Linked DNA regions of Homo sapiens: all the other regions are linked to region 4. The links are contacts of gene promoters, found by promoter capture Hi-C in blood cells and fetal thymus (Javierre and others, 2016). All regions are on one chromosome and are shown on one strand. Each heading gives the region's core, a stretch centred on a gene start or on the middle of the fragment in contact. The rest is flanking DNA. Distances are from core to core; before and after follow the strand shown. Region 1 overlaps LYPLA1-TCEA1 (LYPLA1-TCEA1 readthrough). Region 2 overlaps LYPLA1-TCEA1 (LYPLA1-TCEA1 readthrough). Region 3 overlaps LYPLA1-TCEA1 (LYPLA1-TCEA1 readthrough). Region 4 holds the start of ATP6V1H (ATPase H+ transporting V1 subunit H).

Region 1 (6,008 bases), core at 2,325-4,824, 150 kb after region 4:
ACATGACAAAACTCTGTCTCTACAAAAAATACAAAAATTAGCCGGGCGTGGTGGTGCACACCTGTAGTCTCAGCTACTCGGGAGGCTGAAGTGGGAGGATGGCTTTTGCCCAGCAGGTGGAGGCTGCAGTGAGCCAAGATCACACCACTGCATGCCAGCCCAGGCAATAGAGCCAGACCTTTTCTCAAAATAAAGTCAAATAAAATAAAAATTAAAGCATACACAGCAATATTGTTTTTAATAAATTTCCATAAAGTTAGAAAATTTAAGGTGGTATCCAAAATATAAACAAATATTTCTGGGATGGTAAACAAAAAACACTTTCATAGAAAATACCTCAGGATGAGTAAGACCTACCCAGTACCTTCTCTATCTTAAATGAACTATAAAGTAATACAGAGTGCACAAGCTTTAAGACTTAAAGAGGCGGCCAGGCACAGTGGTTCATGCCTGCAATCCCAGCACTTTGGAAGGCCACGGCGGGCAGATCACGAGGTCAGGAGATCAAGATCATCCTGGTTAACATGGTAAAACCCCGTCTCTACTAAAAAAAATACAAAAAATTAGCCGGGCGTGGTGATACGCGCCTGTAGTCCCAGCTACTCAGGAGGCTGAGGCAGAAGAATAGCTTGAACCCAGGAGGCGGAGGTTGCAGTGAGCCGAGATCATACCACTGCACTCCAGCCTGGGCAACAGAACAAGACTCTGTCTCAAAAAAAAAAAGAGGTAAGCAATGAGATATTATGAAATAAGGTACATAAAAATAGGTTGAGTCAGTGCAATATTTCAATAGCCCAAAGAAACATTCACTTTTAAATCAATCAACACAGTCTTAAATTTTAAAACTGGTGCCTGCCTGGGGTCAAATGTGGTGGCTGACACCTGTAAACCCAACACTTTGGGAGGCTGAGGCAGGTGGATCACTTGAGGTCAGGAGTTCAAGACCAGCCTAGCCAATATGGTGAAACCCTATCTCTACTAAAAATACAAAAATTAGCTGGACATGGTGGTGCACACCTGCAATCCCAGCTAACGCTGAGGCAGGAGAATCATTTGAACCTGGGAGGAGGAGGTTGCAGTGAGCCGAGATTGTGCGACTGCACTCCAGCCTGGGTGACAGAGTGAGACTCTGTCTCAAAAAAAAAAAAAAAAAAAAAGAAAAATTCAGTGCATGCCTGTAGTCCCAGCCACTCAGGAAGCCCAGGCAGGAGGAACGCTTGAGCCCAGGAACTTGAGGCTGCAATGAGCTATAACTGCACCACTGCACTCCAGCCTGGATGACAGAGTGATACCTGTCTCAAAAAAAACAAAACAAAAACAAAACACATAGCCTTGAAGCTAAGTTCAGAAAACGTTTGGGTCTACTGTACAAAGTATACCAGTTAAGTACATTTTGCTCCCTACATAAGCAATAAAGGCTACATAAAGAATTCTTTCAATTCTTCACATCTCTCTGTATAGAATATAGAAGAAACTATATCCAACTGGATAGCAGAATCACCTAGGGAGCTTTTAAACATATCCTCATGCCAAGCTCCGAACCAGATCCATTCAATCCAAATCTCTGGCAGTGAGGCGCAAGCATCATTATTTTTTAAAGTTCCTTAGACAACTCTAATATATAGTTGTCTGGATGAGAATCACTGATAAGAGAATGGTTGAAATCACAACTGTAGAACTCATCTTGTAAAGTTGAAGTTTGTCAAACCTAAAACACAATTCAAGCCCTCTGATAAAACACGCACATACACTTTAGTCTTCACATAATTTTACTGCTCCTTGTTATTCTCAATAATTTCCTTGAAGGCTCAAATCCCAAAGATGCTATAGTACTGTAACACTGAAAACAAAGATTAATAATGACACATGGCAAGGACTAAGAAATGGTCCAAAAGTAATAGGGTAGAAAGCATTTAAAAGGGAAAACTGATATAACAATGAAATATGATCCAGCAAGGATCCAATGCTGCCAAAGGGACAGCAGAACTATCTCACACACTGCTCTGGCACAGTGAATTAGTACAATCCTTTTAGACAGCAGAGCAGTAAGAGGCATGAACAGCCTCAGAAGCATTCCTACTATCTGATACGGTGTTGTGGGCAACACAGTCCAGCTAGCTGGGAAGGAGGTGCTCCAGCTCTGGACTCCAGCTGTCTGCAATCAAGTCCCAGCTTGGCTATTCACCACTGATTCAACTGTGTGCAAGGTATTTAACCGCTCAGTGCCTCAGATTCCTCATCATAAAATGGAGATTATAATAGCACCTACCAAATTGGATTGTTGTGAGGATTAAATGCATTAATACAGGTCAATGCTTGGCACATCTTAAGTACTCAACAATGTGCTACCTAGTAGCAGTAGTAGTAAATGTAGAAATCTAGCTAACAATGTAAAGAAAAAGCTTTAGGCAGAAAGATATCCATCAAGACATTAGTTACAACCACCATAAAGTTAAAAACAAGAAATCTAACAACTGGCAAGTGATCAACTAAAATATGGTATAGTCAACTGAATAAATCATTCTGAAACCAATAAAAATAATAGTTATGATAGAAAAACAAACTATTTTCATTAAAAAAGGTAATATAAATTAAGTACACACACAGCATAGGTAAAATTATAGTAGGGGTAAAATTTATGCAAATTAAATTTGAATAGTAATGTATTACAATCCATTATACAGAAAAGGAACCTGCGAGTCTACACTAATGGATAACTAGCTAAGGGGTAAAAAGAAGGTTGTCTTTTTTTTTTTTTTTAGACAGACTCTCACTCTGTTGCCCAGGCTGGAGTTCAGTGGCGCGATCTCGGCTCAGTGCAAGCTCCGCCTCCCGGGTTCACGCCATTCTCCTGCCTCAGCCTCTCGAGTAGCAGTAGCTGGGACTACAGGTGCTCACCATCACACTCAGCTAATTTTTTTGTATTTTTTTAGTAGAGATGGGGTTTCACCGTGTTAGCCAGGATGGTCTCGATCTCCTGACCTCGTGATCTGCCTGCCTCAGCCTCCCAAAGTGCTGAGATTACAGGCGTGAGCCACCATGCCTGGCCAGAAGGTTCTTCTTCTAACAGAATGATGATTTTATAAGTATTGAAGCAGAGGAGTCAGAAAAATCACAATTTTGCAACTACTACTACAAAGATTGGTTTGAGCAAAAAATCAATGGATCCTAAATTGGGAGGGGAGGAAAAAGATTTGTTAAGGTGTAAGACAGTTTCAGGATCTTAAAAGTGTCTCCCACAGAATGGCTATTAGCTACAAGAGGAAAAACAATACACTATACAGTGTGGCTTTGACTAGATTCTCAAAATTACTATCAATCACTCTGGATATGATACCTTGAGAAGGACATAACATGCTTAAACAGTATTCCAACTGGGGATGTACAACCTGATCTAATCATGAGAAAAAAGCAGGTACACCTCAAATAAGGAATATGCTATTAAAAACAAAGGAGGGGCCAAGCGCGATGGCTCACGCCTATAAACCTAACACTTTGGGAGGCCAAGGCAGGTTGGATCGCTTGAGCCCAAGAGTCCAAGACCAGCCTTAGCAACATAGTGAGACTCTGTCTCAAATTAGTAAATAAATAACAAAGGAGGGCAGTGGCGGATGCTTGCAATTCCAGCTACTCAGGAGTCTGATGTGAAAGACTGCTTGAACCCAGGAGTTGGAGGTTAGCCTAGGCAACATAGCAAGACCCCTATTTCAACACAAAACAAAAAAAGTGGTGGGAAAGGGGGTGGATAGGGGAATAAACCTGCTTCAAGGATACAACTTAAAAATGTGGGAAATTCTGCCTTGAATATATTTCCTAGTTTACTTTTAAACCAAAATCCAATTCCACTTTGCATTCATTACAATTGGTCATTTTCTGCATATTGTATAACATATCCAAGTTCTATTTTTTAAGCCCATTATGAATTTGATAAAAATCTGATTTGCATGAAAGTATTTTAAAATACACATTAATGATGGTTACATGAATGTATATGTAAGATAAAATTGCTCAGAAGGATACATGCCCCCACACATACACTAGCGCCAGTAAAAACTGATGAAATCTGAATAAGGTCTGTAGACTGTATCACTGTCAATTTCCTGGTTGAGATTCTGTATATGAGAGTTATGTGATATTGCCATAGGAGGAAGCTGGATAAAGGGTACATGAGACCTTTCTGTACTTTTTTTTTGTGGTAATTTTCTGTGAGTCACTTATTATGTCAAAATAAAAAGTTAAACTCCACATATTCAGGAGGCATACATACTTTCTTCTATAGGAAATGACCTTGTTTCTTTTAGCCCTACTTGAGGCAGGGGACCAGGAATGAGGGGGAAGGGACAGGATATATACACACACACACATAAAATTTTAAAGCATGGCCCACAACAGTAATTTTTTTTATTGGGTTTGTGCAATTAATGTGAAAGACAAAATTGCGTTTAATTTTCTTTCCTTCCAAATTTGACTTTCAGGAAATATATCAACAAAAAATTGACAGCCCCAAAATAAAATTTAAGGTGAGGGAATTCATATTTGTTGGGCTAGGACCCTATGTACATTTCCTACACAGGTGATAATTGATAGTGAAAGATCACAGACCAAAAACAAAGAAAAAGTAAAATCATGAACCTAAGTAAACAGGTTGGTCTTCAAATGAGAAAGGAACATTTCTGCCTTGGGGGGAAAACAAAGGAGAAGGGATACCTGTATTCTTCAAAATGTCAATTTCATAAAAGATAAAGAAAAGCTTAAGAATGATTTCAAATTAGAAAACTAGCTATGTGAGGCCAGGCGAGGTGGCTCACGCCTGTAATCCCAGCACTTTGGGAGGCCAAGGCGGGCAGATCACAAGGTCAGGTGATCGAGACCACCCTGGCTAACACGGTGAAACCTCGTCTCTACTAAAAATACAAAAAATTAGCTGGGCGTGGTGGCGGCCACCTGTAGTCCCAGCTACTCGGGAGGCTGAGGCAGAATGGCATGAACCCAGGAGGCGGAGCTTGCAGTGAGCCGAGATTGCACCACTGCACTCCAGCCTGGGCAACAGAGTGAGACTCAGTCTCAAAAAAAAAAAAAAAAAAAAAAGAAAGAAAACTAGCTATGTGATCCTGAAGTGGATCTTTTCCTGAAGGTAGAAAAACAAAAGAACTATAAAAAAACATTATTGGGACAACTGACAAACCTGAACATAAACCATAAAATACTATACCAATGTTAAATTTCCTATATTTCTTATACTATGATTCCATAAAAAAATAAGATTGTAGTAAGGAAATACACGCAAGTATTTAAAGGGTAAAAGAGCATGATATATTCAACCTACTTTCAAATGGTTCCGAAAAAAATAATTTGTGTGTGTGCAAATAGAGAAAGAAAAAGAGAGAATATGATAAAACAAATATGGCAAATATTAAAAATTGATGATATGGATAAAGGATACGGCATTCTTTTAATCATCCTTGCAAGTTTTCTGTAAGTCAAAAAATTTCAAAAACCATTTCAAAAGGTATCCACAACCTTTCCTTTAAGAGAAAATTCTTCTTACTGAAAGAGTTTATCCAGTTGTGTCAAAAGTTAAGAAAGCCAAATTTGACTGGCCTAAAAGGCAAAAAAACCCTAAAGATCAAATTAACTCCCCTCGCCTTTATTACGAGGCACTGCTTTCAGTATATCTAGATTCACTAAGAAAAAAATGTAACCATTAACTAACCATAAAATGTAACCATTAACTATTTGAATAAATCACAACATCATAAATATATGTAAGGGAAGATCAATGATACCTAATAATTTTTTCCAGGATTTGATGAGAGACTTTGCCAAAGATGTAACTTCCTCATCTGTACTCTGCTTGCGAATAGCATTAACTGACATTCCGATTCTTGTGGACTGCAAGGCAATAACAAAAAAATTATGTATACCAATTTTATTTTAAACAAATTAGTATTTCACCTACATTCTTTTCTTTCCCAGATTCCTGTTTCTATTTTAGAATTTCAAAACTT
Region 2 (6,206 bases), core at 2,126-4,625, 210 kb after region 4:
GGAACCACAGGTGCCCGCCACCTCACCCGGCCTGTCCTCTTCTATCTTGATTGAAAATGGTTTTCTCCTCTTTTAAGGCAAGCACTATACATCTCAGGACTTAATTCTATTCTATGATCCCTCTGAGAATGCCTCTATCAATTATCTTCTCTTTACTGCATCTTCTTCCTCCCTCCTTCCACTCATAGGTCTTTCTCTGATCCCACTGAAGAACAGATTTCCTACTCTTCTTCCTGTTTACCAAAACTTTTTTAAAAGGTCTATACATGTTGCCTCTGCTTCCTCATTTCCCTATCCACTTCATACAATCCTTTGCATTTTGGCTTTATCTACCCAAACATCCAAGGTCACAGGTGGCTTAATATTGGGTACTTTCTTCCTAAACTATTTCTCCTTAATCCTTCTCTGGAACACATTACACATCTCCTTCCCACTCTGAAATTCTCTCCACCCATACTCTCAACACCTAACTCCTTTTCTCATTAGGCTAAACTGTAATGTGTCCCCCAAAGTTCTATCCCTGAGCTTTTTTTCTTATAATGCTTTCTCAAGATAATTCTTCGTTGATCAATTATATTAGTAATTATTTCAAATCTCCATTTCCAGGCTTGAACTTCAGACAAGTATTTCCAATATCCTATTTTGATATTGTGGGGGCACATTGATCTCAATACATTAAACTCAGTATTATCTCCTTCCTTTACTCTAAAACTGTTTCTTGCACCTACTTTTTATGATGGCATCAGAACTAGAAATCTCAGGCCCTTTTGATACTTCCTTGGTTACTACACCCCACATAATTAATCTCTAAATCCTGCTGGATCACCTGTCTCTAGAATGTAGATCAGATCACATCTCACTTCAACCAAAAACACTGACAGCTTCCTGCTGCCTAGAGAGTAAGTCTAGTAAGTCCCTTCTCAGCACAAAGAGTCTCTGTTCCCTATGTCTTCTGTCCTATCATGCCCAGCTTTTCCTAAGACTGAATGGCTTGCTTTTCCTGTCCTATAGTTCTTTCTCTGCACATTTGCTATCCAAATCCCACCGTTTTTCAAAATCTAGCTGTTTCATCATGGTCTCAGTGCCTCCTAAGATAAAATTAATCTCTTCTCAGTTTTTCAGGGCACCTTTTGTTATTTTCCAAGGGCACTTTTTAAAGCTTCTAATACAATGTATATCACATTCTGCTATCCATACAGTTACTTAGACATGCATCTTTCTATTAAATTTTATCTTAAATTTTAATGAAAGGGAATGTTTATTATTCATCTTTGAATTATGTACAATGCTGTGTATAATAGCCAATCAGTAAATATTTGTTGAATTAAGTTGAATACACACTCATCTAATGACTGCTAACTTATGACTCAATATGAATTAACTCATTTAAATCCCCAAGCATTCAAATGTTACTTTTCTTGAAAATATCACATGAAAAAAGTTACAAATATGGCGCTGATCACTGCTTCTAGACACCTACCTGTTGACACGAACTGTGCATCATACCTTCATAGGTTTTAAAGGTCACATTGGCTGGATTCACCAATGTTTTTAGTTTTTCCACCGTAAGAGAACCAAACATCAGGGGAACCAAAGGGTCACAATCCCCGTGGCACTGGAGAATAGAAATATCTCTATTAGCACCACCGATAGGACCCTGCAAAAAGCAAAAGAAGAAATAGTTTTATTTTTGTAAAAGTATAGGACACTATGCCAGGCATTTAAAATTGTACATAAATATGCATATATATAACATATTAGAAGTTACATTTGGCCAAAAAAATAAAATTCCTTCATCCATATACTCACCACATCCCTTTGACTTCTATAGGATGTATGATCACCTTGCCTCATATTATAATATATATCTTCCCAGTGAATGAGTTCCTTGAAGCAGATTATATATACATTTTTTTGTTTCGTTTAGTTTTTTTGAGACGGAGTCTTGCTCTGTTGCCCAGGCTGGAGTGCAGTGGCGTGATCTCAGCTCACTGCAACCTCTGCCTCCCAGGTTCAAGCAATTCTCCTGCCTCAGCCTCCCAAGTAGCTGGGATTACAGGCACGTGCCACCACGCCCAGCTAATTTTTTTGTATTTTTTAGTAGAGACAGGGTTTCACTGTGTTACCCAGGATGGTCTCAATCTCCTGACCTTGTGATCCACCTGCCTTGGCCTCCGAAAGTGCTGGGATTACAGGCGTGAGCCACTGCACCCAGCCAAGCAGATTATATTTTAATCCATCTTTATATTTTCAGCTTTTTTTTGTTTGTTTGGTTGGTTGTTTTAGTATTTTGAGTTGCTGTTTTATTCAGCTATCTTTTTTTTTTTTTTTCCCCCAAAGACAGAGTCTTGCTCTGTTACCCAGGCTGGAGTGAAGTGGCACAATCGTGGCTCACTGCAACTTCCACCTCCTGGGTTCAAGTGATTCTCATGCCTCAGCCTCCTGAGTAGCTGGGATTATAGGTGTGCACCACGACGCCCAGCTAATTTCTGTATTTTTAGTAGCCATGGGGTTTCACCATGTTGGCCAGGCTGGTCTTGAACTCCTGACCTGAGGTAATCCACCCGCCTCAGCCTCCCAAAGTGCTGGGATTACAGGCATGAGCCACCGCACCTGGTCTAAAAATAAGTATGATTTCTATATGTTAAAAAAAGTCCTAATTTTCATATATATCCTAAAATGTATCAAATCCTTCTAATATAAGATTTGTGACAATAAGGTTTCTTTCTAATTCCATTCTATGTACTCCACAATACAGACAGTATAGCGTACAGAAATAAGGCCTAGTAATACATCACAAAAGTCTAAGAAAATTATTTTTAAAAAAGGATGAGTGCTGTAAGTGGAGGACTTGGTGATGGTGATGTGTCAGTGCAGCATTACTGACTGCAGCAAAAACATGGCTGTGGAGGTGGGGATGCTGATGGTGGGGAGGCTGTGCATGTGTGGGGACAGGAGGTAGATAGTAACTCTGTACCTTCTGCTCAGTTTTGCTGTGAATTTAGAACTTCTCCAAAAAATAAAGTTTATTAATAAAAAAAAATAAGATGACTTTATCTCCAACAATATCTACTAGCTACCTTTAGCTCAGTAATCTCATGTTGAGTGCATCAACCAAGTTACCTGTGGAAAGGAAGCCCGAAGTGGAAGCCAGCAACTGAGTGCAGTGACACCTGCCAGTTTCTGCTGTGTGGTAAGGGCAGTATATAAAGATAAAGCTCCTCCCTGAAAAGACAAGCAGGGAAAGTCAATGGAACACACATGCTTGCCCACAGCAATTTAGGGAATATCTTGTTACTAATGATATCCATAAAAAAATCAAACTTGGTGGCTGGTGTCAAATCAAATCAGGCAAATATCGGAAATACAAACACACCCCACCGTGTCCTAAAGGATGCGGTTCTCTACACCAGAGAACATACAGACTTCCTTTCCGACGAGACATAGTTTGTACCATGGGAAACTGCTGCACTTACAACATGCCTTACGAATATTCTGAATTTATATTTTCTCCTTTGCAGAATTTTAGGCATAAAATCCAATCTGCTCTTAAATTGGTATTACTTTTTTTTTTTTTTTTGAGATGGAGTTTCACTCTTGTTGCCCAGGCTGGAGAGTAATGGTGCAATCTTGGCTCACCACAACCTCCGCCTCCTGAGTTCAAGCGATTCTCCTGCCTCAGCCTCCCGAGTAGCTGGGATTACAGGCATGCACCACCACACCCGGCTAATTTTGTATTTTTGGTAGAGACGGGGTTTCTCCATGTTGGTTAGGCTGGTCTCAAACTCCCGACCTCAGGTGATCCACGCGCCTCAGCCTCCCAAAGTGTTGGGATTACAGGTGTGAGCCACCGTGCCTGGCCCTTAAATTGGTATTACTTTCTAAATGAGAATTTAAGATAATAATAACTATTTAGCAGACACCTTCAGAGTATCTGCCTACCCAGCTCACAACATCCCACATTCTGGAAGCTGTACTCCTGCCAGCATCCAGAAGCCCCATCACTCTGACCATGCCCATGGGTTACTGCAACACATGAGTACACGAGAGCCTTTCACATCCCAGGCAGTGATGTTTTCTCCTGGCACTGTGGAAATGGGATTCGATGACCACCAGTCACTCTCTGTGTGGCTACACCTGTAACATGTAAATTCAAGAGCTGGAAAAGCTATAGGCTGCAAAAGCCAAGATGGCCAATTGTTTATGGAAAGGTAAATGAAACAGACAAGCAAAGAAACAAGAGATGAGAGATGGTGAGCAAGGCCCAACTGCTTTTCAATTTCTAGCTACTTCCTGAGGCCTTGCCTCATTTTCCTCCTCAGTTTCCTTGATAGGATGCCACAGACTCATTGCTTACTCCTTGCTTGAGGTATTGAGTTGGTTTCTATATACTGTAATGAATGAATATCAAATATACAGACTCCCACATGAACTTGTTATTCTGGATCATTATTATTATTATTTTTGAGACAGAGTCTCAGCTCTGTTGCCCAGGCTGGAGTATAGTGGTGCGATCTTGGCTCACTGCAACCTCTGGCTCCTGGGTTCAAGTGATTTTCCTGCTTCAGCCTCCGGAGTAGCTGGAGTTACAGAGGCGTGCACCACTATGCCCGGCTAATTTTTGTATTTTTAGTAGAGACAGGGTTTCACCATGTTGGCTGGGCTGGTCTCGAACTCCTGACCTCAAGTGATCCACCCACCTTGGCCTCCCAAAGTGCTGGGATTACAGGCGTGAGCCACCGTGCCTGGCCTGGATCATTAATTTCTGTCCCTATGTTTATGTCACAATGTGTATTACAATATACATTATCTGTGAATTTCAACAAACACCAAATCAGTAACACCTTTTCACTATATTGTATCAACAAATCTTTCTACTGAATTCTATCTTCTAAATAATTTCAGAATTCTGACATCTCCCTAATTAAGGTAATCCAAACATCTCCCTAATTAAGGTAATCCAAACACTAAGTTGCTAACTTAGAAGATTTACAGATGATAAGTTAGAGCATCTGGGGACTGGTTCCATGGCAAACAGCTTATATGCCGCAGTAGCCATGAAAGAAAGGTCCGTATGAGGAAGCTACGTCTGTGGAGGGAGTACAGAAAGCAGGGGAAAAAGTACAGAGACAAAGAAAAATGCCAAAAATAAACACCACATATTCATACCTAAAACCTGTAATACGTGAAGGTAAAGGGAAGAAATTCTCTTGTCTTCCACTTTACTGTTCCTATCAGTAGTCTCCTCCTATAGAGGGGACTCATGCCTGTGTTATCAGTTTTAATTAATTAAAAGGATAAACTGTGTTAACTTAGAAATTTAATTACATGTGTACATGTGTATTATAGTTCTTTCAAGAAGAAATTAATTAGTTCCAGTACACTGAAACTTAATTAAACATCAAAGGTAAGTGTATCAGTCAAGATTCTATAACATCAAAAAAGACTACTCTATAGAAAGGATTAATGCACAGACTTCTAAATAAGTATACTGATGGTACTGACATTCCACTCAAATTTTATCTTACCTGAGAAAACCCTCCCAAAATAATTCTGTTAGAAGGAATGCCATTCTTCACTTCTTGATCAATCAAAGCTTTTACTAAAAACAACATGAAAGTTAGTCAGCAATACTTTCAGAGTTAAGCCCACTGATAAAATTTAAATTAGGAAAAAATTAGTAATAGAAAAGCGCAATTACTTTTAAGGTGGAAATGAGTGAAAAATTCAAAGCACTTCATTAAAATACAAAATTAGAATGTATTTTCATATGCCAACGGAGAACAACGTGAAAAGGAAATTTTAAAAAAATCAAATTTCCGATAGTCACACATAAAATTAAATACCTAGGAATTAAACAAAGAAGTGAACGGTCTCTATAATGAAAACTATAAAACACTGATGAAAGAGGACACCAAAAAATGGAAAAAAGATTCCATGGTCATGGATAAGAAGAACCAATAACAATATTGATTGTTATTGTTCATGAATTCTTCTAATCCATGACCATGGAATATTTTTCCCAAATCACCCAAAGCAATCTACAGATTCAATGCAATCTCTATGAAAATACCAATGACAATCTTCACAGAAATAGAAAAACAATCCTAATTATTTTTTTTTTTTTTTTGAGACAAAGTCTCGCTCTGTCACCCAGGCTGGAGTGCAGTGGCGTGATCTTGGCTCACTGCAAGCTCCGCCTACTG
Region 3 (6,400 bases), core at 759-3,258, 170 kb after region 4:
TTCAATTCAACCCAATACCTCATAAATAAAAATTTAAGTTCAACAGAAATTATGACACGTTATTATAAGTAATGTTTAATTATTTGCTGTTTAAAGATCTCTCCTAATCTTAAAATTCTATAAATTCTTCCTATTTAGTCATCTAGAAACAGTAAAACATTAAAGTTGTTGGAAAAGAAATCTAACACTGACTTAAAACGTATTATTAAACAAGCATTTCTACAGGTATGACATTGTTGTGAGTAAATGAAGTCTTCGATCCCTTATCTGCAAATTTCCAGACCAAAAACCTTTGAAAAGCAAAAGATTTCTAGATTTCTCATAGGTAAACTCATTTGGCAGCTAAACCTAACCACAACACATGTAAAGCTATTTGTGCTCTATGCCACGTAATGTGACTATTACAACTGACTACAGAAATGTTAAGGCCGGGCGCAGTGGCTCACACCTGTAATCCCAACACTTTGGGAGGCCGAGGTGGATGGATCACGAGGTCAGGAGTTCAAGACCACCCTAACCAAGATAGTGAAACCCTGTCTCTACTAAAAATACAAAAATTAGCTGGGCGTGGTGGCGGGTGCCTGTAATCCCAGCTACTCAGGAGACTGAGGCAGAGAGCTGCTTGAACCCAGGAAGTGGAGGTTGCAGTGAGCCGAGATCGCGCCACTGCACTCCAGCCTGGGCGACAGAGCGAGACTCCGTCTCAAAAAAACAAAAAACAAAACAAAAAAAAGAAATGTTAATGTCTGGTTGCTGAAGTGCCCAAATCCTGCTGGGGGTATTATGTAATATATGATGTATATACCAAATTATCTTTATCAAATCTGAAAAATCTGGAATTACCAAATATATCAGACCCTAAGGGTTTTGATTAACAAACTCTAGAAGTCTGGACAACACAGCATGACCCCCTCTCTACAAAAAATAAAGATAAAAAATTAGCTGGCCATAGTGCCTGTAGTCCTAGCTACTCCAGAAGCTGAGGCGGGAGGACTGCTCGAGCCCAGAAGCTTGAGATTACATGAACCATGATCGTGCCACGGCAGTCTAGCCTGTGTGGACAGAGTGAGACTCCATTTCTAAAATAAAAATTAAAAAACGACGACGACAAAAAAAAAAAAAAAAAAAAAAGATTGTGGGCCTGTATTCTCCATTTACCATTGACATTTTTCTTCTATCCACATTTCCAGGATTTCTGATCCACTTCTGACCAAGAATCTCTTAATAAGGGTAAAGAATCACACTTCTAGAAGTTCCTTAAAAAGCAGGGTTTCCTAAGTATTAAGTTGATTCTTCCAACATATCAGCAATGAGACATACAGTTTAAATTGTTTTCCAAGTAGAGGCAATATATTTGCATTAATTTTGTTACTTTCCTTTTCTACTCAGCTCTCTGGTGAGGCCATGGTTGGAATAAAAAGCTAAAAGTAACACTCACGGAATAAAACTATGACCTTTCTGAAAACTGCACTGTGTTCCAACTAATTCAAATAAATATTTCACTGAAGGGTCTTTAAGAAATAACTATGGGCTGGGCACGGTGGCTTATGCATGTGGCTCACACCTGTAATCCTAGCACTTTGGGAGACCGAGGTGGGAGGATCAACCTGAGCTCAGGAGTTCGAGACCAGCCTGGCCAACATGGTGAAACTCCATCTCTACTAAAAATACAAAAATTAGCGGGGCGTGGTGGCGGGCACCTGTAATCCCACAGCTACTCAGGAGGCTGAGGCAGGAGAATCACTTGAACCCAGGAGGCGGAGGTTGCAGTGAGCCGAGATCGTGCCACTGCACTCCAACCTGGACGATAGAGCAAAACTCCATCTCAAAAAAAAAAAAAAAAAAAAAACAAAAAACAGACAAACAAAAAGAAATAACTATGATGATCTGAATGAGTGAAATGCAAAACAGATAATCATACATTAATTCGGTGACAACAAACTTTGAGTGCTGCTATGTGCTTGGCATTGTTAAATACTTCACATAGATTTAATTCCACCTTCACCATAAACCCTATAGAAGCAGGTATTATCTCCATTTTACAGATGAGGAAATATGTCAAGAAACTTGCACAAGGTTCTATGATTACTAACTAGAAAAGGTAAGATCTACTCCAGTAATGTCAAATGTACCAAGCTCTACTGTACTGGGGATACAGCAGTGAGCAAGACTGAAACCCTTTCTGACATCAGGGAATTTTAAAACAAACAGAAATCTTTAATCATCTATTTCAAACCCTTAACTACACACAAAAAAAAGAAACTTAAACCCAGAAAAGAAAAGTGACTTGCCCAAGGTCATACTGACGGGTAGTAAGGTCATGAACTAGTCGCCTGACCCTTATACTGCTGCCCTTTCCCCAGCAGTGCGCCAGTGGCAGCACTCCTTTGTGAATTCAGATGACTAGTATCACCAAACAAGAAGCTGTATTTTAGCCTTCCCCAAGCATCACCTAGCTCTAAATGTCAAGCCTAGGCCAGGCACAATGGCTCAGCCTGTAATCCCAGCACTCTGGGAGGCCTAAGGCAGGAGGATCACTTGAGCCCAGGGGTTCGAGACCAGCCTGGATAACAGAATGAGATCCCACCTCTATTTAAAAAAAAAGAAAAGAAAAGAATACATGTCCAAGTCTATGAGATTGTAGCATCTCCTACAGATGATGCAAGAGAAAGAAAGACTCTTCTTTAATTTCCAGAGCCAAATTTAGTTCACACTACTGGCTGAAAGATAAACTACAGCTATCACACTATTTTATTACATTGTTGGTGCTCCTATCTGGTAATAGAAAACAAGTGATTTTATAAACCATGATACTTGTACTATGTGCTCAGTATACTCAAGACCATGTAGGATACGAACATCCCTCTCCTCAAGGAGATGTAAAAAGGAGGGAGTAATAGGGATTTATAGTTAAGAATATGGTGTACATATATGACAGATTTAGATTCAAATCCATGCTCTGACATTTGCTAACTACAAGATCTGGGTAATGTTATTTGTCCTTTTCAAGCTTCAGCTTCTTTATACGTAGGTGAGCATAACACACCAACCTTGAGTAGTTAAAACAGCCAAATGAGGCAACATTACACAGATAAAGTATCAAAATAGAGGGTCTGACACATAGCATGGTTGATGAGGAGTACAAAAATATACAAATAATTACTTATTTCTACCATAACAATAATCTCCAGGGGCCATAAGCCAGCATTTTCAGTGATCATATTTAAGCTCAATCAAGTAAAACAGTTACTTCTTCTATAATAATGTCTTCTTCATAGGCATTATTATAAGATTTCAAGGTTAAAGAATTAAGATATTATCCATTTTTTTTTTTTTGAGACAGTCTCACTGTGTCGCCCAGGCTGGAGTGCAGTGGCGTGATCTCAGTTCGCTGCAACCTCTACCTCCTGGGTTCAAGCGATTATCCTGCCTCAGCCTCCCAAGCAGCTGGGACTACAGGCGCCCACCACCACGCCCAACTAATTTTTGTATTTTCAGTAGAGATGGGGTTTCACTATGTTAGCCAGGCTGGTCTTGAACTCCTGACCTCGTGATCTGCCCACCTCAGCCTCCCAAAGTGCTGGGATTACAGGTGTGACCCACCATGCCTGGCCCATTATCTATTTTCTTAAACAATGAATTATAGATATTTGAGTTGTAGCTCAATAACATCACTATAAAGCTAGGACTTATGATATTACTATGTCATCTCAAATTTGCAGTTAAACTACACCAAAAGCACAAGCAACAAAAGAAAAATATATATAAATTCATCTTCATCAAAATTAGAATATTTTATACTTCAAAGGCCACAACCAAGAGCAGACAGACAACCCACAGAATGGGAGACAGTATCAGCATATCTAACAAGGTTCTAGTATTCAGAATATAAAGAACTCTTACAACTCAATAATAAAAAGACAACCCAATTTAAAAATGGACTAATCCAATTTGTACTCCAGCCTGGGCAACATAGCCAGACCCTGACTCTTTTCTAAAAAATGGGCAAAGGATCTGAATAGACATTTATTTCTCCATAGAAGATATGCAAATGGCCACAAAGCAATGAAAAGATGCTCAACATTGTTAATCACAAGGGACATGCAAATCAAACCCACAATGAAATACCACTTTACACCCACTAGGAAGGCTATAATCAAGACAAATGATATTGGTGAAAATGAGGTGAAACTGGAATCCTCACACACTGCTAGTTGGAATGTAAAATGGTGCAGCCACACTGGAAAGGTCTGGCAGTTCCTCAAAAGGTTAAACATAGTTACTATATGACCCAGTAATTATTCTCCGAGGTATACACCCAACAGAAATGAAAACATATGTCGCCAGGCGCGGTGGCTCACGCCTGTAATCCCGGCACTTTAGGAGGCCGAGGCGGGCAGATCATGAAGTCAGGAGATCGAGACCATCCTGGCTAATACAGTGAAACCCAGTCTCTACTAAAAATACAATAGCCGGGCATGGTGCTGGGTGCCTGTAGCCCCAGCTACTCGGGAGGCTGAGGCAGGAGAATGGTGGGAACCCGGGAGGCGGAGCTTACAGTGAGCCATCACACCACTGCACTCCAGCCGGGGTGACAGAGCGAGACACTTGTACAGCAATGTTTTTAACAGTATTATTCACAACAGCCAAAAAGCTGAAACAGCCCAAATGTCCACCAAATGATGAATGAATAAGCAAATCGTGGTTGGGTGCAGTGGCTCACATCTGTAATCCCAGCACTTTGGGAGGCTGAAGCGGGTAGATCACCTGAGATCAGGAGTTCTAGACCAGCTTGGCCGACATGGTGAAACCCTGTCTCTACTAAAAATACAAAAATCAGGCCAGGCGGTGTGGCTCACGCGTGGAAATCCCAGCACTTTGGGAGGCCAAGACAGGCGGATTATGAGGTCAGGAGTTTGAGACCGGCCTGGCCAATATGGTGAAACCCCATCTCTACTAAAAATACAAAAATTAGCCGGGTGTGGTGGTGCGCGCCTATAGTCCCAGCTACTCGGGAGGCTGAGACAGGAGAACTGCTTGAACCTGGGAGGCGGAGGTTGCAGTGAGCCGAGATCGCGCCACTGCACTCCAGCCTGAGCGACAGAGCAAGATGAGACTCCGTCTCAAAAAAAAAAAAAAAAAAAAAAGACTATACTAAGCAAAAGAGGCCAGTTACAAAAGACCACATACTGTATAATTTCACTGACAGAAAATTTCCAGATTTGGCAAACACACAGACAGAAAGTATATTAGTGGCTGTCAGAGGCGTGTGAGAAATTGGTGGGGGCAAATGAGGGCTGAATGAGGAGTGACTGCTTAATAGGTACAGGGTTTCTTTTTGGAGTGATGAAAATGTTCTAAAATTATACAGTAGTAATAGTTGCACAAACCCGTAAATACACTAAAAGCCACTGAATTAACAGTTGACCCTCAAATAACATGGGTTTAAACTGCACAGATTCACCTGAGAATTTTCTTTCACCTCTGCAACCCTAGATGACAAAACCAACTCTTCCTTTCTCCTCAGCTTATTCAATGTGAAGACAAAGAGGATGAAGACCTTTACGACGACACATTTCCACTTCATGAACAGTAAACATATTTTCTCTCCTTTATTTCTTTTCTTTTCTTTTTTGAGACATTGTCTCGCTCTGTCACCCAGGCTAAGTGCCTATAATCCCAACATTTTGGGAGGCCAAGGCAGGCAGATCACTTGAGTTCAGGAGTTCTAGATCAGCCTGGGCAATATGGTGAAACCCCATCTCTATAAAAAATACCCAAAAAAGGCTGGGCTCAGTGGCTCACGCCTGTAATCCCAGCAATTTGGGAGGCCGAGGCAGGTGAATCACTTGAGGTCAGGATGTGGAGACCAGCCTGAGAAAAATGGTAAAATCCCATCTCTACTAAAAATACAAAATTAGTTGGGTGTGGTGGCACGCACTTGTAGTCCCAGCTACTCGGGAAGCTGAGGTGGGAGAGCTGCTTAAACCCAGGAGGCGGAGGTTGCAGTGAGCCAAGATCATGCCACCACACTCCAGCCTGAGTGACATGACTGCATGAGTTATACTACTACAAAAGTTATACTACTTGACTGCATGCGGGTAGGGAGGGGGGATAGTGTGAGCACCACAACCCTTGCATTGTTCAAGAGTCAACTACACTTTAAGAATGAATTTAATTCTATTTCTCGATAAAGCTGTTATTAAAAATTGTATAGTCATTCTAAATTTTGAATTATGCTAATTAATCTAACTCTGATATAGATATCAAAGTTTTGTTGCAGTTGTTATTTTAACTGAGGTACTTGGAAATGTAAATCAATATTTCAGGTATCCCAGCTCCTACGAAATTCTAACATCTAATTTCAATTTCTCTCCCTGCAATTTAATTCCACTCAACC
Region 4 (6,131 bases), core at 3,151-5,650:
TCTTATTATCTCAGTACAGAATGTGATAGAAGATTCACTGATTCTTCATGTGTTGGTTCCAGCCCCCAACAATCTGTAAGCTCTTTTATATGAGACACATTTCACACCCACCAGCACCCACACATCAACAGGCTCAACAGGCCCACAGTTAACATTTGGTGAACATTTGCCCACAGGCCTACGGAGTGGAGGGGTTTTACAAAAGAAATTTGTGAGATGGACATCAGAACAAAAGACAGATATATAGGAAAACGGGAAAACACAACATGTCATAGACCATGGGTAACGAAGAACAGAAATAAAGCAATTTTAAAAGCTCCATGTAACTACAAACATTCCAAATGCCAACGTTAGGCGGAGCTCTGGCCAGTCCACCAGTGCTTTATGATCAACAATATTATTCTATGTAGGCTATAAACAGATCCAGGCTTTATAAACATAAAACTCCCTGTCCTCTAGTCTAAATGCACTCTGGACTAAAGAAATTAGGAAACAGAGCTCAGAATCCTAATTTCACAGGGAATTTAAACAATTACACAAACACTGATGAACAGAGAAAACATCAGCAAGTCTCCCCTCCTCCTGTCCTTCAGTCAGTGGCCCCACAATAACCCAGTTCCTTAAAGTAGGAATCCAGAAGTCATCCAAGACTTCTCTTTCACCCCCACACACCAAATCAATCACTAAGACTCTCTCAATCTAACCAATTCTATCTATTCCAATACCTTGGTTACTGCTATAGCTTCTCTCTACCTCTAGACTTATCACCTACAAACTCACCCTTCATGCTGCTAGTAGAACAATTCAATCAAGAGGCAGATATGGTCTTCTAACTCCCGGCTACAAGATTCATTGGTTTCCAACACCTACAGCTCCTTGGAAAATGGTGAATGGTCTCAAAAAGAGGGCTCTGGGACACACACTCCCACCTCCATTCTATCATTTTCATCTGTTTTACATGCTAACTTCATATCAATCATGGGCTTCACAGCTTAAAAATCAGCTTGAAAAGCACTGACTGATAGGATCAAGTCCAAACTCCTTCCAACCACACACCCACACACAGCATCTTCACGATCGGCCCCTGGCTGCCTCTCTAGCCTCAGCTCTCTGCATTGCCTGCCTCCAAAACATGTATGACTCCCACCCAGTGTGCTGTTTTTGCTTCCCTGCCTTTGCTCACATTATCTGTTCTATTCCCAAGGCTGCTCCTACTTGCCACATGGCTAAATACCCATCATCCTCAAAAACTCAGTTCAGGGACCAGCCCCTTCAGGAAAATTTCCAAGGGGTAGAATTACTTGTCTTTTTTATGTGCACCTGCCAGACCCTGTGCATCTTTCTATTGCCACAGTTAACATACTGAATTAGAGCCGGGCACGGTGGCTCACGCCTGTAATCCCAGCACTTTGGGAGGCCAAGAGGGGCAGATCACGAGGTCAGGAGTTCGAGACCAGCCTGGCCAACATGTTGAAACCCTGTCTCTACTAAAAATACAAAAAAATTAGGCGGGCAAGGTGTCAGGTGCCTGTAATCCCAGCTACTCGGGAGGCTGAGGAAGGAGAACTGCTTGAACCCGGGAGGCGGAGGATGCAGTGAGCCAAGACTGCCCCACTGTACTCCAGCCTGGGCAACAGAGTGAGACTCTGTCTCAAAAAAAAAAAAAAATAGTGAATTAAAATGATCTATTAATACATCTGACTTCCCTACTAGAGTTTTAGTTCCTTCAGGGACAGTACTCTGTATGGAATTTTTGTAGCCTCAAAGCCTGGAAAAATGCCTCAAACTTGGCAGGTAATCAATAAATGTTTGATGAGTGATTAAATTAACAGAAATTAAAGGATCATTTTTGTACATTATAGATCCCTCCTACAACAACACAAACTATTAATACTAATATAAAATTAACACTAATATAAAACTAGATTCCTCAATTTGTTTTTCAAAATGCATATGCAAATCTGAACTGAATTCCTTGGTAACTCAGTTATAAATATACCAAAATAAATATGAAGTCAATAAAATATGGTCAAGAATACATGAATGCTCACTTTATAGATAAATACAAAATACTGAAACATCAGCACATTAAATATTAATACATACAAGAAAGAAGGGGGAACTAAAATGTATTGTATTCAACATACTAATGCTTGTATTCTACTGTGCTAATAAATACATTATTTCAGCAACAAGCCTGTGGGGTATGTCTCCCCATTTCACATTTTACTTTATTGAGCCTCAGAGAAGTTAAGTGATTTGCTTAAGATCACCAAACTAATAGCAAGAACCAAAACTCAAATCCAAGTCTCTCAACTCAAATATCTGTGCTTCTTATTAGTTGTATGCACCACTCTAAAAAGGCCACCTGCCCCCATGCTGATTGCCAGGGCATATCAGACCAGTCTAGCAGGTTTTGCCCCTCATCCCCTTCCTCCCTCCGTTAGCCCAAGGACATTCCTCCTATGTTTCCCACTTATTCCAAAAGTACTTCCCCAGGCAGCCAGAGAAGGTCAAAAGCACCATAAGCCGCTCTGCTTCCCCACTAGGGCGCCAAGCTGTTTCCACCCCACTACACTTAACTCCCTAAGACAGCTAATTATTCTGAAGAGGAAGTGTTTCTTCCACATTTTTCAGTATTTTCCCTGTATTTCTCTCATAGAAGCATGACCATGAAAAAGTCTGATGCAAAAGCATATGACTGTCCATGATTCACAGCAAATTGGTACTTACTGAAGATAGGATTGCCAGTTGACTTTGTTTGCACGAACTTCTGCAGCCTTGGCAGCAATAATATTGGTGGGGACAGCAGCATCCACAGCACCTCGGATATCCATTTTGGTCATCTAAACTTCGTAATCTTGAATGTCTTTCAACAAATCTTCAATTTTGATGCAAGGTAAAAACAGAATACGAGGTGTTTCTTTTTTTTACAACTATTAATATTATGATTATGAATATCGTGATCACTTTAATCTCCCCAGGCATTCAACTCAAATATTAAATGTCCTAAGTCTGAAAGTATCATTATATTTCAAATATTGTCCACTGCTCCATAAAAGAGTTCTTTAGGCTTTTGCTTTTCTAGAAAAATTTTTTTCATTATTGGCACTAACACTGCAGTAAGATTTTTAAAGCAATCACCTAATATACTGAAATCAGAAATCATGATTAAATAGAATAGGTATAAATATGGGAAAAATTGTAAATTTATACAATTGTGGTTAACTTTTCTCATAGAGAAACAATAAGAATATGAATAGTACGGATAAGGCTAGTTTTATAAACATTTACTAAGCATCATTTTGAAGTGGCACATTAAAAATTCTAAGTCCTTTCGAAAATTACTCAAATTAAAATACACAAAGTGGGAACATAATTTCTTAGAAGACAGTGCTTTCCTTTTCAAACAAAATTCATAGTATTTGCAAAATCAAAATTCGGAGAGAAAGTTTTAGAACAAATACATATTACAATTTAGGTAAGCCAACAATGGCGGTCTGGCTGGACGACAAGAACCTACAATAATGAAATTCTATGTAATTCTCACTCCTAAACTTCCAGATACAAACGACTGATTTTAACACAAAGCAAAATACAGGTTGCCACTTGCAAAACATAAATTCACGGCCATGGCCACAAAGAAGTTAAAATCCTACCCAAAATTATATTCCGGGTTTCCAACGATCTTAATCAATTTGGAACTTAATCTCTGTATCTGAAGATTTGCTGTATAAACAACCCTGGGCAGCGCGAACGACAGGGCCCAGGAAAAAACAGGCTTCAACTGGGCCAGGCTGGAACTCTGCAGCCAAGGAGGCTCAGCCTCAGCGGCCCGTCCTGGCGTAGCTCAAGGTGTCTCTAGACAATTACCTAAGTCCCTGAACTACTCGCACCCCCAGCGATCCAGGGCCGTGGCCCAGTCCTGGAGAAGGTATACTTTTTACCCCTCCCCCTCCACTCTCCTGCCCGCCCCTGACGTTTCTTCCCCCTGCGAGAAAGGCTCCAGAATTTCGCTTAATAAACCTGGTTGAGGCCTGGAAGAAAAGCAATCTGGCAACCGGGGGCCGAAGAACAGGAGAGGACCAAGCGGCGAGACACCAGCACGCACCAGGCAAGCTGGAGAAACTGCAAGAGTCGCCTGACCTGGTCTGCAGCCTGAGACCAAACAACGCGAGGGCGGCCTTACCTCGCGAATCCTCGGGACCCCACAACGCACCCAAAGCCGGCAGGGAGGGTGGTCCGGGGCGCCGGGGACACAGCCGGGCTGGGGCGCCGCGTCAGAGCCAAGTAGGCGTCTCCTGTCAGGTCCAGAGGTCTGAGCAGTGGAGGGAGACTCCGGGAGCCGAAAGTGAAGCGGGTCCCGCACCAAGGAGACGTTGAGGGCCGCACAGGTAGAAGGAAGCCAGGGCGGCCGCAGTAGAATGACAGAGGCGCCGGTCACGTGATCGGAGGCACGTGACTGCTGCGGAAGGCGGAAGCCGGGAGACTCCAAAGCAGCAAGAGGAGGGGCGGGCGCTGCGGCGGGGCTTGTTCGGTGCGGACAACTGGATTCCCGAGTCCGTAACTTGGGCCCCGGAGCGACGCAAGGGTCGGGCCCCAGCCAGCCAGGGCAGGTGGGAGGCGGCGAGCGTGGCGGGCACGCTAAGACCCGCCGCCCCCAGACCTAGTGCCTCGCCTAGGGGAGGCCGAGGACCTCCGCCCGGAAGCAGCTAGCAGAGGCCAAAACGCTCTTATTGTAACCGTCATTCTTTTGAAAAGTTTGATTTCGCGCTTTCAAATTAATTTCCATTTGGATTTAACAGCTCCATGAAGCAGGCGTTCTTATTCTGATTTTAAATAGAAAACTCGGGCTGAGAAGTGGGTCTGAAAAGCTCTCTTAACCTAGGGTTGCACATTTAGCAAATAATAAATTCCATTGCAGTATTTACTTTTATACTAAAAAGTTATTCGTTGTTTATCTAAAATTCACATTTACAGGACGTCTGGTATTTTATCCAACAGTCCCATCTGGAGCCCAAATTTTCCCCTAGTCCAGGCCTCAGCAACTGTCTTTGCCTTAAAGTAAGAATGTACTGCCCTGGAGGTGAAGTATATATGATAGCATGTTTTCCTTAAAAAGCAATGAAAGGGGCCGGGCGCGGTGGCTCACTCCTGTAATCCCAGCACTTTGGGAGGCCGAGGCCAGTGGATCACCTGAGGTCTGGAGTTCGAGACCAGCTGACCAACATGGTGAAACCCCATCTCTACTAAAAATACAAAAAATTAGCTGGGTGTGGTGGCGCATGCCTGTAATCCCAGCTGCTTGGGAGGCTGAGGTAGGAAAATCACTTGAACCCAGGAGGCAGAGGTTGCAGTGAGCCAAGACCGCACCATTGTACTCCAGCCTGGGCAGAAAAAGCAAAACTCCGTCTCAAAAAGAAAAAAAAAAAATTCTTTGAAAGGGATTTATAACCAACCCATTTTTACTCGTAAAATTAAAGTCAGAATAATCAAAATCATGCATTGATTATGAATAAAGATATATAATAACAGTGTCAAAGATTGTACTAGGTCACTCATTCTGTCTTAGCCAGAAGTGAAAGTCTGTTGTTTTGAAAGCAAATCTAAGGGGAAAAACTTTCATAAAAGAGAAAAAGAAACCGATCGTGTACTAAGAAACTCCCAAAAGCTGAAACAGCATGTTTTCTGTGTAACTGAGCAAAGCTGGCAGTGAGGCCTGATCTTCGCATTTCCTTTCTGTATCACCTAAGCCACAGACTGGCGTGATACAGCGAGTCTCATCAGATTTCGGGAGGCTCTCCTCTTTTCCTAGAGGCACAAAGTTATGGAACAAAATCAGGAACAGTGCAGTGAGCAGAGGGGACTGCTTCACAGGCACCTGGGCTGGCGTTCTCCGAGCATCACAACATTACCAGACAATTTGCCTGGAGTAGGGAGAAGAGAAGAGGCAGGTACTCCCGGCATTATCTCTCTTAACATTATTTCTGTAACACTTCTATCGGAGATTTTTCTTGGTCCATTCAGGCTCCTGTAACAGTGCTGTAGACTGGGTGGCTTATAAACAACAGAAAGTCATTTTCTCACAGTTCTGGAGGTTGAAAGTTCAGAATTGGGGTGCTATCATGGTG

Evidence for each region. The method cuts DNA at HindIII sites, captures the fragments that hold promoters and counts their contacts. A CHiCAGO score of 5 or more calls a contact.
Region 1: a fragment that was not itself captured here is called in contact with the fragment with the promoter of ATP6V1H in region 4 in 6 of 17 cell types (M1 macrophages, M0 macrophages, M2 macrophages and 3 more); the score reaches 7.9 in M1 macrophages.
Region 2: a fragment that was not itself captured here is called in contact with the fragment with the promoter of ATP6V1H in region 4 in 4 of 17 cell types (neutrophils, M1 macrophages, M2 macrophages and 1 more); the score reaches 6.6 in neutrophils.
Region 3: a fragment that was not itself captured here is called in contact with the fragment with the promoter of ATP6V1H in region 4 in 11 of 17 cell types (M0 macrophages, M2 macrophages, M1 macrophages and 8 more); the score reaches 11.6 in M0 macrophages.

The regions. Positions count from the first base shown.
Region 1 is chr8:53,994,159-54,000,166 of GRCh38, forward strand. LYPLA1-TCEA1 (LYPLA1-TCEA1 readthrough) reads right to left here. Exons shown (of 21, transcript NM_001425842.1): 14 at 5,787-5,892. TCEA1 (transcription elongation factor A1) reads right to left here. Exons shown (of 10, transcript NM_006756.4): 3 at 5,787-5,892. Among named protein-coding and RNA genes, the nearest start is that of TCEA1, 25 kb to the right of the region's middle. The HindIII fragment of the contact is 2,348 bases long and covers 2,401-4,748 here.
Region 2 is chr8:54,049,532-54,055,737 of GRCh38, forward strand. LYPLA1-TCEA1 (LYPLA1-TCEA1 readthrough) reads right to left here. Exons shown (of 21, transcript NM_001425842.1): 6 at 5,529-5,602; 7 at 3,124-3,225; 8 at 1,481-1,657. It overlaps LYPLA1 (lysophospholipase 1), which reads right to left. Exons shown (of 9, transcript NM_006330.4): 6 at 5,529-5,602; 7 at 3,124-3,225; 8 at 1,481-1,657. It overlaps LOC133039971 (Uncharacterized LOC133039971), which reads left to right. Exons shown (of 3, transcript NR_189620.1): 3 at 1-1,245. Among named protein-coding and RNA genes, the nearest start is that of TCEA1, 30 kb to the left of the region's middle. The HindIII fragment of the contact is 4,437 bases long and covers 1,158-5,594 here.
Region 3 is chr8:54,011,854-54,018,253 of GRCh38, forward strand. All of the region lies in intron 12 of LYPLA1-TCEA1 (LYPLA1-TCEA1 readthrough), which reads right to left. All of the region lies in intron 1 of TCEA1 (transcription elongation factor A1), which reads right to left. Among named protein-coding and RNA genes, the nearest start is that of TCEA1, 7.4 kb to the right of the region's middle. RefSeq lists a silencer at 609-708. The HindIII fragment of the contact is 2,000 bases long and covers 1,009-3,008 here.
Region 4 is chr8:53,838,845-53,844,975 of GRCh38, forward strand. ATP6V1H (ATPase H+ transporting V1 subunit H) reads right to left here and starts at 4,401. Exons shown (of 14, transcript NM_015941.4): 1 at 4,190-4,401; 2 at 2,734-2,881. The coding sequence starts at 2,846. RefSeq lists enhancers at 4,350-4,489, 5,787-5,836 and a silencer at 4,560-4,709. The HindIII fragment of the contact is 7,596 bases long and covers 1-6,131 here.